Regions from separate parts of the Homo sapiens genome. Here region 2 is linked to region 1. Evidence: promoter capture Hi-C in 16 types of primary human blood cells and fetal thymus (Javierre and others, 2016). All regions are on one chromosome and are shown on one strand. The core of a region is centred on a gene start or on the middle of the fragment in contact, and the rest is flanking DNA. Distances in the headings are between cores, read along the strand shown.

The links. Contacts are between HindIII fragments. The CHiCAGO score rates a contact against its expected background, and 5 or more counts as called.
Region 2: a fragment that was not itself captured here is called in contact with the fragment with the promoter of CD63 in region 1 in 1 of 17 cell types (megakaryocytes); the score reaches 8.7 in megakaryocytes.

The regions. Positions count from the first base shown.
Region 1 is chr12:55,727,759-55,735,416 of GRCh38, reverse strand. It overlaps CD63 (CD63 molecule), which reads left to right and starts at 6,408. Exons shown (of 8, transcript NM_001780.6): 1 at 6,408-6,464; 2 at 7,065-7,141. The coding sequence starts at 7,076. It overlaps CD63-AS1 (CD63 antisense RNA 1), which reads right to left and starts at 6,323. Exons shown (of 2, transcript NR_183514.1): 1 at 6,062-6,323; 2 at 4,565-5,755. RefSeq lists silencers at 6,062-6,441, 6,712-7,011 and an enhancer at 5,976-6,582. The HindIII fragment of the contact is 20,987 bases long and covers 1-7,658 here.
Region 2 is chr12:55,790,846-55,798,503 of GRCh38, reverse strand. It overlaps SARNP (SAP domain containing ribonucleoprotein), which reads left to right. Exons shown (of 11, transcript NM_033082.4): 5 at 2,428-2,479; 6 at 3,624-3,697; 7 at 4,117-4,145. Among named protein-coding and RNA genes, the nearest start is that of SARNP, 23 kb to the left of the region's middle. RefSeq lists an enhancer at 1-285. The HindIII fragment of the contact is 2,580 bases long and covers 2,224-4,803 here.

The sequences.
Region 1 (7,658 bases), core at 5,159-7,658:
AACCTCCGTCTCCCGGGTTCCAGTGATTCTCCTGCTTCAGCCTCCCCAGTAGCTGGGATTACAGGCATGTGCCACCACACCCAGCTAATTTGTATTTTTAGTAGAGACGGGGGCCTGTCCATGTTGGTCAGGCTGGTCTTGAACTCCTGACCTCAGGTGATCCGCCCGCCTCAGCCTCCCAAAGTGCTGGTATTACAGGTGTGAGCCACTGTGCCCAGCCACCATTTTTCTGTTATTTTTTTATTTTTTTGAGATGGAGTCTTGCTCTGTCACCCAGGCTGGAGTGCAGTGCTGTGATCTCACTGCAACCTCTGCCTCCCAGGTTCAAGCAATTCTCCTGCCTCAGCCTCCCGAGTAGCTGGGACTACAGGTGCATGCCACCACGCCCGGCTAATTTTTTGTATTTTAGTAGAGATGGAATTTCACTGTGTTGTCCAGGCTGGTCTCAAACTCCTGAGCTCAGGCTATCCATCCACCTCAGCCTCCCAAAGTGCTAGGTCACAGGCATGAGCCACTGCACTCGGCCTGGCCACCATTCTTAAAGTAATAAAACCAATTCCCTTAGTTTATTCTGTGATCCTCACAACTGCCCTGTGAGGTGGGGAAGGGAGTTGTTTCCCTCCTACTCAACTGGGAGAAAGCTGAGGCTCAGGGAGAGAGGTCACCCCATTCATGAGCAGCAGAACCAGGTCTCACACCAGGGCTTCTGGCCTCAGAGAGCTTCTTGCTGGCGGCAGGTGTGACAGCACTGGAGTGGTACATCAAGACCCTGGCAGGGTGTGGTGGTTCACGCCTGTAATCCCAGCACTTTGGGAGGCCAAGGCAGGTGGATCACTTGAGGTCAGGAGTTCAAGACCAGCCTGACCAACATGGTGAAACCCCGTCTCTACTAAAAATACAAAAAGTTAGCCAGCGTGGTGGTGGGCACCTATAATCCCAGCTATTCAGGAGGCTGAGGCAGGAGAATCGCTTGAACCTGGGAGGCAAAGGTTGCAGTGAGCTGAGATCGCGCCATTGCACTCCAACCTGGGCAACAAGAGCGAAACTCTGTCGGAAAAAAATAAAAAAGAATTAAAAAAATTAGCTAGGTGTGGTGGCGGGCTACAGCCTGTAATCCCGGCTACTCGGGAGGCTGAGGCAGGAGAATCACTTGAAACTGGTAGGCGGAGGTTTTGGGGAGCTGAGTGCCACTACACTTCAGCCTGGGTGACAGAGTGAGACTTCATCTCAAAAAAAAAAAAAAAAAGACCCAGATTCTTACGTGCAGGTTGATCTGTTGACCCTGAGTGAGTGGCTTTACCTCTCTGAGCCCCACTTTCCTGGAAGTGAGATAAAAAAGGGACTTTGGCAATATGTTCTTCTGGATACCATGGTAATGTAGTCTTGCCAATTATGAAGGGTGTGGCCTCCCCCAAAAAGTTGGAGCAGAGATGGCCACCCAGTGACTGGAAGACTCCTTTTTTTTTTTTTTTGAGATGGAGTCTCACTCTGTTGCCCAAGCTGGAGTGCAGTGGCATGATCTTGACTCACTGCAACCTCTGCCTTCCAGGTTCAAGCAATTTTCCTGCCTCAGCTTCCTGAGTAGCTGGGATTATAGGTGTGCACCACCACGCCCGGCTAATTTTTTTTTTTTTTTGAGACAGAGTCTCGCTCTGTTGCCCAGGCTGGAGTGCAATGGCGTGTTCTCAGCTCACTGCAACCGCCGCCTCCCGGGGTTAGAGTGATTCTCCTGCCTCAGCCTCCTGAGTAGCTGGGATTACAGGCGTGCGCCACAATGCCCGGCTAATTTTTGTATTTTTTAGTGGAGACGGGGTTTCACCACGTTGGTCAGGCTGTCTCGAACTTCTGACCTCGTGATCCGCCTGCCTTGGCCTCCCAAAGTGCTGGGATTACAGGCGTGAGTCACCGCCCTGGCCACACCTGGCTAATTTTTGTATTTGTAGTAGAGATGGGGTTTCACTGTGTTGTCCAGGCTGGTCTCAAACTCTTGACCTCAGGTGATCCACCCGCCTCGGCCTCCCAAAGTGCTAGGATTATAGGCGTGAGCCACCGCGCCTGGCCTGGAGACTCCTTTGTGTTCCCCAGTCTCCACCAACCAGTAAATACATAGTGGTGATGTCGCCATGGAGCCCGTGCACAGTACTCCCCTGGGGGCTGCACTCAGTGCTGGTGCTGGGGCATATAACCTACTCTCTGGAGAGCCCTGCGGGATGGTCTATGAGCTTTTCTGCCAGCAGGACCTGCAAACGCGCAGGTGCAGCCCCTCCTTCACCCTGCGATCTGAGAGATGCCATCAAGCACCGTGCCTCTATCCTTATCCAAAGCTGAGGCCTCTGGACTTAAATTTCAGGCCCCCATTTCAGACCCAACCTCTGGACCTTGAATTTTATCCACCACTCTCCTTACCCTCCCAGTGGGGGGATGGCTTTGATGATGCATCCTTGTTTCCTTCTTCCCTCCCATCCCTATCTCTTCCTCTTCCCTCTCCCCACTCCTCTCTTACACCTATTTTTCAAAAATTAAAGAAAATGTTTTTTAAACTGAAGCCCAAGAAGCATTGATCCTTCATGTATTTTTGCCTCCTCTTCCCCCATCCTTCCCCATGCCTCCCACCCTCCTCTATGTCTCTCACTTTCCGGTTTTTCCTCACCCCTCTCCCAACTCTCCTCAACTGTTCTTTTCCCTTGATTCTGGATCCCTTCTTTCTTCCTCACCTTCCTCATATCCCCTCACCCTCCTCATATCCCCTCACCCTTTCCTGTGCTTAGATGCAGGCTACAAGCTGCTGTGCATGGCACTGGGTCTGGCTGATGCCTACATGCTCTCAGAAGGCTGCAGGTTTGCTTGAGACATCTGTGGCCCCCATGCTGTGTCGCTGGGCCTAGGTGGAGGCGTGGTGAAGCTGGAGGGAAAGCTGGCTTTGCTTGGTGTGGAGGGACAAGGGTCCCCGCCTCAGCACACCTACCACCAACTGGTGCCAGGCAACCAAGAGGCAGCAGCCTGGGCCAGCCAGGACGGCTTGGTGGCATATCTGGATGTCAGGCACTTGGAACAGGTGCTGGGGGATCTGAAGGATGTGAAGGGCCAGGTCTGAGATCAGCCACTTCCCACTAAGAGGCCCCTCTATCCTGCACCCCAGCAAACACATGGAGCTCTGTGTCAACTTTCCAGGCTGTAGAAGTGGGCCATTCTTTGTGTGTATGTGTGTAGTAAAATATATATAACATAAAATTCAGGGACATTGAGTACATACACATTGTGCAACCATCAGCACCATCCATCTCCACAACATTTTCATCTTTCTTTCTTTTTCTTTGAGACAGAGTCTCGCTCTGTTGCCCAGGCTGGAGTGCAATGGCACAATATCGGCTCTACTAAAAATACAAAATTATCCAGGCATGGTGGCGCATGCCTGTAATCCCGGCTACTCAGGAGGCTGAGGCAGGAGAATCTCTTGAACCTGGGAGGCAGAGGTTGTGGTGAGTTGTGCCACTGCACTCCAGCCTGGGCAACAAGAGCAAAACTCCATCTCAAAAACAAAAACAAAAACAAAAAACCTAGATGTTTATGGTTAAGGAAACAAATTAATAATAATAAAAAAGATAATATCGATTCTTACAAAATACAGTAATTAAGAAAATTAATCCTTTATCACAAACTTTTGTAGCAGAGCACATCTCTCCATATATACAAGCATTATACCGAGGGTGAATGTGTTCCTCCTCTTACTTTTTTTTTTTGAGACAGAGTTTTGCCGGGCACAGTGGCTCACGCCTGTAATCCCAGCACTTTGGAAGGCTGAGGGGGCGGATCACGAGGTCAATAGATGGAGACCATCCTGGCCAATATGGTGAAACCCCATCTCTACTAAAAACACAAAAATTAGCTGGGCGTAGTGGTGCGTGCCTGTAGTCCCAGCTACTTGGGAGGCTGAGGCAGGAGAATCACTTGAACACGGGAGGCGGAGGTTGCAGTGAGCCAAGATGGCACCACTGCACTCCACCCTGGTGACAGAGCGAGACTCCGTCTCAAAAAAAAAAAAAAAAAAAAGAGAGACGGAGTTTCACTCTTGTTGCCCAGGATGGCATGCAGCAACACGATCTCTGCTCACTGCAACCTCTGCCTCCTGGGTTCAAGTGATTCTCCTGCCTCAGCCTCCTGAGTAGCTGGGACTACAGGCACACATCATTGTGCCCAGCTACTTTTTGTATTTTTAGTAGAGACGGGGTTTCACCGTGTTGGCCAGGCTGGTCTCGAACTCCTGACCTCAGGTGATCCACCTGCCTAGGCCTCCCAAAATGCTGGGATTACAGGTGTGGTGAGCCACTGCGCCTAGCCCCTCCTCTTACTTTGGGGAACATCCTACTCTGTCTATGGAGCAGCTGTTGTTTCACCACTTTACTTTCTTAATAAACTTGCTTATACTTTGCACTGCGACTCGCCCTGAATCTTTCTTGCATGAGATCCAAGAACCCTCTCTTGTGGTCTGGATTGGGACCCCTTTCCTGTAACAAATGCATTGGCTGATAGGAGAATAAAGAAAAAAAAAGAGGAAAAACTAGAGTAACTTCTCTACATAATCATATTATATGACCGTTTTGTTAACCATGATAACAGTTAACAAAATAATTTTCTTATGTCTAATTCTCAGTCCATGTCTGTATGTCCCAAAATGTCTTTCACAGCTGGTTTGTTCAACCATTCAATGAAGGACCAAACATTGCAGTTGGTTGTTATGTATCTAGTCTCTCAATCTTGATCTTCAGACCACCTTCAGCCCATCTCACCACATCCGTCCCAAGCCCTTTGAGCCAGCCAACCCCAACCTGCCATGTACTTTACAAAATGCTCCTTTTTTTTCCACAGTCGACTGCTTCTCTGTCCCTGGAGCTCTCCCCTTTATTCTCCAAGGTCACCTTGAGCACATCCTTCTGCTCCGTGAAATCCATTCTCCTCTCCCTTTCCCTCCCTCTGAGCTTAACCAGCTGCCACCGCAGGCTTCTGCCTTTCTTCACAGTGTGGCCAGAACTCGGTTCTGCCTGCTAGCAGAGGGCAGGGCCGCTGTCTTCCTCTCCTTGCAGCCCCCAAGCCTAGCACATGCCTGGCATCTAGTGGCAGCACAATAAGGAACCTGATGAATACTCCTTTCTTCTGCTCTCCGCTCCTCCTCCACAGCCTGCCAGCCATGGTCAGGAAGAGCAAGATCCGGAATGGGCTTGGTGTGTCCCGCGGGAAGGCCGTGATCCTGGAAGATGCTTCTCAGCCCAGCCCGGATCTCCTTCCTTTAGCTCTAGAGACTTCTTTCATTCTTTGTGTACACACATACACTAAGACTCAGGAAGTGGTTCTTGAGGCAGGACCTTAAGAGCCCAAGGAGTGGGGCCGAGGCTGGAGGTGTGGGGGTGTGACGGCCGGTCCTACTCTCCGGCCTGTTCAGATCAGCTCCTTCTGGGGACCACCCCTGGCACACAAGGGAGGGAGGCAGCTTGATCCCCCTAGCCCGCTTCCAGCCCTCACCTGGCTTTGTCTTCTGGGATAAGACGGGGAAATCCAGAGGATGTAAGCCTCTCCTGCCTTCGTGTCTTCCCCCAAGCCCTCGCTATCACAGACGGATGCAGGAGCTGTCTGGGAGGCTGGAAGCACAGACCTTGTCAATCCTCCCCCAGAGGGCGGGACCCGACGCGGACGTGTCTTGATTGACTGGGTAGCGTGGCTTCGGGGAAGGGCTTCCTCCCCTTTTCTCAGACTAGGATCCCTGGAAAATGGAGAAGCTGTGCTAATAGAGGGGGGCCAGAAATCCCCACTCTAGAATGCTGTAGAATGTTGGGAGACACCCAGGATGTGAGCCAGGGACTTTCTGGAAGTGTTTGTTCTGGCCCCACCCGACCCCAGGCAGTCCCCAGCTGTCTGCACAGTCGGATGGGGAGGGGGCTTGCACAGAGTTGGAGCCAGAGGAGAGAGCTGGCTCATCCCCTACGGTAGGATGGGGAAACCTCACAGACCACATTGTCACCCGGCCTCAGCTCTCCGCCCCGGCGCTCAGAGGGTAACTCTCACCCACCTCGTCCGCTTCTCTGAACCAGAGTGACCCAGGCTGCGCTCCGCCCCGCTCTCCTACCCCGAGTTGGCACGGAGGTATAGCGCCAGAGGGGGGCCCCAGGCGCCCCGAGGTCTTGCCCTTGCGGCTTTCCCTTTGCGGGGGTGGGCGCCTTCTTCCGGGTAGGGGCCACGTGGCCCTGGCCGGGCGGGGGGCTCGGCCCACCCCGCGCCGGGCCCAGTGACTCAGGCCGCAGCTGTTACCGCGTCACATGAGGGAGGCCGGCGGCCACTCGGCGGGGGAGGGGACCGTGGCTGGAGCCCGGGGCGGGGCCGCGCGGCAGGCGGGGCGGGAGCCGGGGGGCGCAGCTAGAGAGCCCCGGAGCCGCGGCGGGAGAGGAACGCGCAGCCAGCCTTGGGAAGCCCAGGTGAGGCCGCGGGGACCCGGCGGACTTCGGCGCGGGCTGGGAGAGACCACCCGCAGTCCCTTCCTCCAGGGCTCGCCCCAGGCCCGCGGAGACTCGTCCGGCGCTCTCCAGCCGCCCTGGAGCAACTTTGCTTCGAAGTTCCCTGGGCCCGGGCAGGGTGTGGCGGGGGTGCTGGCTGCACTTTTTTTTTTTTTGGTGGGCGGGGAGGTCAGAGCCCAGGGGAAAGGGGCTGGGGCGGGGGTCGGGGTTGGGCTGAAGACCGTTTCTCCAGGCTGGGTGTTGGGTGGGGAAAGGGTGTTTGACGCCCGGAGACTGGCGGGCCGAGGGTCGGCGTCAGGCTCAAGCCCCTGCCGGCGCCCTTGGATCTGTCCTGGGCCCCAGAGGCGGCGGGGCGGGGTCCGGGCTTCGCGGCCGTCGCCCCCACCCCTCTCCTGCGGGTAAAGAGGGGGCTGGGAGACGTGGATCCGACCGCGGGTTTCCGGGTGGGAGGGGCCGGGAATCGGGGCCGTGAAGGGAAGCCCTCGAGGGCCGGCCGGGAGCCCGGAAACCGAGGTCCCCCTTCGGCCAGTTTTAATCCCCCCGCCCTCCCCTCTGCCCCAGGCCCGGCAGCCATGGCGGTGGAAGGAGGAATGAAATGTGTGAAGTTCTTGCTCTACGTCCTCCTGCTGGCCTTTTGCGTGAGTGGCGAGGGGTCCTGGGGGGCGCGCCGGCAGGGTGCGGGGAGACCTGGCTCCACAGTGGTGAGGGCTGAGGGAATGAGAATTAAGGCAGCTGGAGACCAGATGTGGAAAGAAAGCCAGGGAAAGACAGCGCAGCCACTCCCTCCTCCAGTTTTCCTGGACACCTGAGGCTTGTTTCCACCGAGAATGGCCATCCTGGGTGTGCAGCAACCCCTACCCCCATCCCTCCTGGCCCTTCCTGTCTGGTGACCCAACCACTTGTGATATGGGGCAGTGGGGCAACCAGCCAACCGCCTGATGCTATCGCCATGGGGCTTCCCTTCGCTCTCCCTTCTCCCCTCTCTCCCTCCCCAACCCTCTCATCCCTGTCCAGCCCCTCTCCCCCTTTCCCTCCTCCCAGCGCTTGGGGGTGAGGAAGGGCTCTGCCCACTTCAATTTGCTCCTGCCCTGGGCTCCTGGCTTGAGAGGCTACTGTTTGTCTAGGGAGGGACACATCACTCTTGCTCCCTTTTCC
Region 2 (7,658 bases), core at 2,264-4,763, 66 kb before region 1:
ATTTTTGAGACAGGGACTCACTCCGTTGTCCAGGCTGGAGTGCAGTGGCACAATCTTGGCTCACTGCAACCTCCGTTTCCCGGCTCAAGCAGTCCTCCAGCTTCAGCCTCCTGAGTAGCTGGAACTACAGGCACGAGCCACTACACCCAGCTCTTTTTTTGTATTTTTTGTAGAGATGGGGTTTCGCCGTGTTTGCCAGGCTGGTCTCAAACTCTTGAGCTCAAAGCGATCCACCTGCCTTGGCCTCCCAAAGTGCTGGGATTACAGGTGTGAGCCAGTAATCACCTGCCTATCAAATACTACTTTCCAGCCTATCAAATACTACTTTCTAAAGCCATTTAGTTATCTTTCCATCATAAGATGTTTATAATTAGATATAGTGCCTTGAAAAAATGACTTTGTGAGATAGCTTTAAAATAGAAATGTTATGGGGATTTCTGGAACAAGAAAGAAGATCAAGTGAATACCATGATAATTGGCTTCTGTGGGTTAAAAAATAGAGGTTCGAAAGTTTGAAGTTCATTATTCATAGAATATTTAAAATGTGCATTCTGTTCAGGGGGCTTTAATTCTATTAATGAATTTTGAAACAAGGAAATTGAAGTGGGTGGGGTGATCGTTTTTGATTTTTAGAGGATAGTTGTGGTTAGACTGAAGTATGTACAAAAAGATTCTGGGTCTCTGTATTTCAGGGAATGTTGTTTATGTGATTGGGTAGGAGAGAAATTTCTCAGTGAAGAGTGGAAATTTCCCATGCATCCCAGAATTCGATGTTTATTTATTGCGCTTGAGTTTAGTTGCCTAAGGGAATTGTAATAGAATGGAAGGAAACTTCCCGTCTGGGGTTCCCTTTCTGCCATGATGTGCACTGCATTGACTGTGCTTCAGAATGGTAATGGGGAGGAAGTCATTACACTGGGGTTGATGGAGAGTACTACTTTCTTGATGGCATTGGATTTCAAGTAAAACATTAAACTTTAGCCTTTTGTGCCTAAATTATAAGACAAGGTTAGGGAAGGATGGCAAGGAAATGGGAAGCGTTTAGAAATTTCTTTAAACGTCAGAATAGCCAGGGCTAGTTTAGATTCCTTGACTATTTAAAAGGAGATCCCCTTCTTCATGTTTGGCCTGAAGTTCTCCAAAAATATACCTGTTTCTAGTTTGATTCCCAACCCCCAACCAGCTAAAGCGGTTACATATCGTAGGACTTCGTTATAGTCAGCAGGGGGCACCCATTGCTTGTCTTCAGTCCAGGGATTTCCAATAAAAGGGTGGAAGAGAGTAAGTTCTTATTCCAGAATTGCTTCCTCTGAAAATGTCATTAAACCATTACTACCTTTCAGGGCATCAAATGGGAAAAGTGTTCAGGATATTGGAACAAAAGCTGCCCATGTCTCTAAATGAGGGACCTTAATGAGACTGGTTATGACCCACAGTTTTATGGGAGTTGTTTGGTGGAGGGTTAATGCCCTTCCATTTATCGTGGGTACTTCCGAACTTTGTCTCCCGCCCCTGTGGTCCCCCCTCTTTTGTTTCCTCTTAAACCTTTGACCACTAGCTTACCATGTTTTCCTAATTCAAACTCCCCTTAGACTTTTTTCTTCCTACCTTCTTTGGCATTTTTATTTGTTTCACTTTGACTGTTCCAGCTAGAGCTACATTCCCCATGGGAGAAATAAGGGATTTTTAAAAGAAGGAAACCAGACCTTGTAGAGTACTTATTAATTGTTGTGATGAACATTGGGAGGTGGTACTTAAAGGAGGATTGGAGGGTTACTCATTAGTTCAAAAGTAAATTAAAGGCTGGGCTCGGTGGCTGATGCCTGTAATCCCAGTACTTTGGGAGGCCGAGGTGGGTGGATCACTTGAGGCCAGGAGTTCGTGACTAGCCTGGCCAACATGGTGAAACCCTATCTCTACTAAAAATACAAAAATTAGCTCGGCGTGGTGGCAGGTGCCTGTAATTCCAGCTACTCAGGAGGTTGAGGCAGGAGAATCTCTTGAACCCAGGAGGTGGAGGTTGCAGTGAGCTGAGATCGTGCCATTGCACTCCAGCCTGGGCGACAAGAGCAAAACTCCGTCTCAGAAAAATAAAAGTAAATTGAAAAGTTCCTAAAAGCAAATGAGATGGTTTCTGGTGTCCTTTGAGTGTTTCCCTTCAGCCCAGTATATTTAACCAGACTTCTTTCCTTATTTCTTTATTATACTTTAGCTAAAGAAGCTTAGTTTGTTATTTGAACTCTTTCCTCTCAATAGATGACAGTTAAAGGAACCAAAGCTCTAGTGGACTTCATGTTTCTTTGGCTTAGGGGGTGGCAGAGAGATAATAGGGCAGAGAATGGTGACTCAGGTGAATTCTTACACATTTCTGAGGTTGTGGTTTAGAATATCAGTTTTCTCATTTTAAAAAATCTCTTTCTTTTCTAGGGCAGCAGAGAAGAAAGTGGTGAAAATTACATCTGAAATACCACAGACTGAGGTAGGTATTCTGCTCCCTAGTAGAACAGTCTCTACATTTCTCTCTCCCTCTTACCCTTTATTATATCTGCATCATCCTCTAAAATTTATTCACAGGCAGAAAATCAGTATTGGCAGATTTTGGTGTTGATACGTTTCACTGCCAGCTACTCTTTGGAAAATATTTGGCTGGCGTAGGGGTAGTCATTCTTGAAGTTGTAGTCTTTTTATATGTAATATTATGGTCTTAACAGTGACTCTCTTTGAGATGTTTTCAAACCTAGGATTAGATTTAGGAGGATTGTACCTTGAAAATGTATTGGTAGATGTGACTCTTATGTTGCTACTGGCCAGTAGCTGAGATTGAAATTTCTCTGGTTTCTGTGGTGCAGGACTGTGAAACCAGGTTCCATTTGAGATCTTGTGTTCAGTATCATACTTGCAAAGTAGAGAATTATTAAACTCTTTTAGAATGGCATAAAACAATGCTGCCTCATTTCTAACTGAAAGAATACCATTGGTGTTGGAACCAAGCTATTCCTTTGATCACTTTTCAAAGGTCAGCCAAACATAGCTTTTGACTTCTTGGCTTCATGCATAATGTAGGTTTTACTTTATTTCTCCCTTTTGTTTTTGAGGGCATCTAGTAATAGTCTTTTTTTGTTTGCTTTGTGGGAAGGGCCGTTAAGTCCTAGCATGGACACAACCTGATATCTTCTAGGATTGTCAGTATTTTCAGTTTAGACCCTAAGAAATTACTTCTGATGTTTTTAAGATACCTACCTTTGGCTGGGCCAGGTGGCTCACGCTTGTAATCCCAGCAGTTTAGGAGGCTGAGGTGGGCAGTTCACTTGAGGCCAGGAGTTCAATATCAGCCTGGCCATCATGGTGAAATCTCATTTCTACTAAAAGCACAAAAATTAGCTGGGCACAGTGGCACAGTCCTGTAATCCCAGCTACTCAGGAGGCTGAGCCACGAGAATCGCTCGAACCCAGGAGGCTGAGGTTGCAGTGAGCCGAGATCATGCCACTGCACTCCAGGCTGGGGGACAGAGTGAGACTCTTTTTTTTTTTTTTTTTTTTTTTTTTAAAGATACCTACCTCTGACTGACTTTCTTAAACCATAAATTGACTTTTTTTTCTCCCTTTTGTCTATTTTTACTTAGAGAATGCAGAAGAGGGCTGAACGATTCAATGTACCTGTGAGCTTGGAGAGTAAGAAAGCTGCTCGGGCAGCTAGGTGAGTGTCCCCAGCCTTTTGGGCCTCTGATAGGGGTGTTGTAAAGATGAAGATGTGTGATCCTAGCTTTTAGGTATAATTGTTGATTTTAAGTAGAATAGAGGCTTGCTGAAGGATATGAACACTTTTTTGACCCTATTCAGAACATGTCTACTGATTTGGTTATAGTAGCTATAAATTGAGCTTTATTGAGAAGGGTTTTTGTAACAGTTAAAGCCAGGAACTGACTACTACTAATTCTGATAAGGCTTCCTTTTAGCTTAATTTCTGAACCTCTTTCATGGGGTTGTTAGAATTAGCTAATGATTGCAAGGCTTGAGATCACAAGCAAGAAGTGTCATATGTATACTTGACACGGAGACAGACAAACCAGGAGTGTGAACAGCTTCCTAAAATTTAGTTTGTTTTTCCTTCTTCAGGTTTGGGATTTCTTCAGTTCCAACAAAAGGTAAGAGTACAGAGATACTTCTGAGAAAGTTACCTTTTTATTCTTTCTTTTCTGGTATAACAGGTTTTATTTCTCCAAAATAAGGTAAATTTGCTAGCTGTAGAAACTCTTTAAGAGATTGTAACATTCATCTCCTGCTTTAGGTAAAATTATACTTAGGCCTTCCTGGGCAATTAAGAGAGATACTGAATGTTATGAGAGGATAGGAAGTGCCAACATTTGTCTGTCTTTTCTTGAACATCTTCAAAGAAGTTTCTCTAGTACTTTGCTTACTTATTCTGGGGTCTCAACTGCATAAAATTATTGCATACTATCTAGTGTTATACTGGCTATTATAAGTGATAAAAGGGAAAAGAATATCTTCTACCTTAACAGTTTTACTTCTAGGAACGTATAAGGAAATAGTCTTGAATGTGCATAAAGACTTAGCCTCAGGGATTATCACAGCATTATTTATAGTGATCAATAACTGGAAACAACCAACTGTACAACAGAGAATTAGTTATTAAATGTGTGCCATGGTATAGCAGACTACTGTGCTGAAATAATATTGAAAGATATTTATCAGAGATATTAATGAAAAAAGTTACAAAATTATATTAACAGTACGTTCCCATTTTAGTCATGTAAGAGTGCATGTATAGATAGGAAAAAAGCTTGGAAGGATACATAGTAGACACTTCAGCAAGGTTTGAACTGCACAGGTCCACTTATACTTGGATTTTTTTTTTTTTCAATAAATACAGTTTGCTGTCTGTATCTGAGGGTTCACCATAACCAAATGCGGTTCAGAAATACAGTATTCTTGGGATGTGAAACCTGCAGATATGGAGGAGCAGCTTATATCTGCTGCAGGACTTGAGTGTGGTGGATTTTGGTATCAGCTGGAGGGGTGGGTTTGGATCCAATCCCCTGAGGAAATGGAGGGACGACTGTATTCTAAATTGTTAATACTCTTATCTCTGGTTGGTGGAATTTTGAATGATTTATTTCTTTTTGCTTGTCTGTGTTATTAAAATCCATACAATGAATATGTATCACTTTTGTAATGAATTAGAGGAAATTATTACTATTTTTTGAGACACAGTCTTGCTCTGTCACCCATGCTGGAGTGCAGGGACGTGATCTGGTTCACTGCAACCTCTGCCTCCCAGGTTCAAGCTATTTTCCTGCCTCAGCCTCCTGAGTAGCTGGGACCACAGGTGCGTGACACCATACCCAGCTAATTTTTGTATTATTAGTAGAGACAGGTTTCACTGTGTTGGCCAGGCTGGTCTTGAACTCCTAACCTCAAGTGATCCACTCACCTCTGCCTCCCAAAATGGTGGGATTACAGGTGTGCCGAGCCTGAAACAGTTATTATTTTTAAGAAACGGCTGGGTATGGTGGCTCATGCCTGTAATCCCAGCACTTTGGGATGCCAAGCCGGGAGGATCAGTTGAACCCAGGAGTTGGAAACTAGCTTGGGAAACAAAGTGACACCTTGTTTCTACAAAAAATTAAAAAATTAACTAGACATGGTGGCAGGTGTTTGTAGTCCCAGCTACTTGGGGCGCTGGGGTGGGAGTATCTCTTAAGCCTGGGAGGTCAAGGCTGGCAGTGAGTGTGATCTTGCCATGACACTCTAGCCTGGGTGACAGAGCAAGATCCTGTCTCAGAATTTAAAAAAAGGACAGGCTGGGCACGGTGGTTCACACCTGTAGTCCCAGCACTTTGGGAGGCCAAGGCAGGTGGATTGCTTAAGGTCAGGAGTTTGAGACCAGCCTGGCCAACATGGCGAAACCCTTCTCTACTAAAAATACAAAAAAAAAAAAAAAAAAAAAGCTGGGTGTGGTGTTGCGCGCCTGTAATTCCAGCTATTTGGGAGGCTGAGGCAGGAGAAGTGCTTGAACGTGGGAAGCGGAGCTTGCAGTGAGCAGAGATTGCTCCACTGTACTCCAGCCTGGGGGACAGAATGAGACTCTTTTCTCAAAAAAACAAAAAGAACATAGCCCCTTTTCTCAGGAACTTAAAACTTAAATGTAGTCTTCCAATTCAATCCAGTTTTCCCTGTGACTCGTCAGTAGTTTTAAGTAAGAAAATGTCCCCCAGAGATCTTCTTGTAGTGTTTTGCTGTGCTTTTAAAAAGACAGAAAAATTCTGGCCGCTATCACTAAGTGTTTTAGAAAAAAAAAATTTTTTTTCTGGCTCTTAGTTGCATCAAGAGAGATATAATTGGTGAAGATACAACAGAAATTATAGAACGTGGTGCTTTTTTATTTTTTTTAAGAGACAGGGTTTCACTATATTGCCCAGGCTGGACTTGAGCTCCTGGGCTCAAGCAATCCTCCCTCAGCCTCCTGAGTAACTGGGACTACAGGTGCAAGGCTAAAATGCTATTTGAAGAAAGATAATAGTTAAAATTAATAGTCTGAAAAGGGAACCTGATAAAAAATACAGTTTCAGTGTTACTCATAATTCTGACATCTTAGAACTATAGAGTAACTCTAAAAAATAACGGAATTTGGGAACATTTAAAAGCAAGCACTGTTTTTTTGAATGAAATCCTGAAAAGTTTGAAGTAAATAATTATTGGCTAGTTTCTTGGTGATAATTTCAGGACAGAAAATTGGCCTTAAGGAGCCATAATTTCTTTTTTTCTCTTTTTTTCTTTTTTTCTTTTTTGAGATGGAGTCTTGCTCTGTCGCCCAGGCTGGAGCACAGTGGCGCCATCTCAGCTCACTGCAGCCTCTGCCTTCTGGGTTCAAGCAATTCTCCTGTCTCAGCCTCCCGAGTAGCTGGGACTACAGGTGTACGCCACCACGCCTGGCTGATTTTTGTATTTGTAGTAGAGATGGGATTTCACCATATTGGTCAGGCTGGTCTACAAGTCCTGACCTCAGGTGATCCACCCGCCTTGGCCTCCAAAAGTGCTGGGATTACAGGCGTAAGCCACTGCACCCGGCCAGGAGCCATAATTTCAACTCATGATAGTAGTTCTTGTTTGTCCAGATGTGATCTCTTTTTTAATAGCTTTACTGAGATGCAATTTATATAACATACAGTTCATCCATTTAAAGATATATAATTCATTATTTCATAGTATATTCACAGAGTTGTGCAGCCATCATCACCGTGCTTATCACCCCAAAAAGAAAGTCTGTGCCCATTAGTAGATATCCTCCATTACCTCTCCCTGCCCAGCCCTAAGCAGCCACTGAGGTTTTTTTCTCCATGGAAATTTGCCTTCATATAAATGAATTCGTATAGTGCGTATAGTGTATTGTCTTTTGTGACTGGATTCTTTCACTTAGCATAGTTTTCAAGGTTCATTAATGTTGTAGCATGTATCTCTATTCATTTTTATTGTTTAATAATATTCCATTGTATGGATATACCATACTTAATTTAGCCAGTCATCAGTTGATGGGTGTTTTTCTTTAACTTTTTGTCTAATATGAATAATGCTGCTGTGAACATTTATGTACAAATTTTTGTGTAATTATATGTTTTCATTTTCTCTTAGCTGTATAG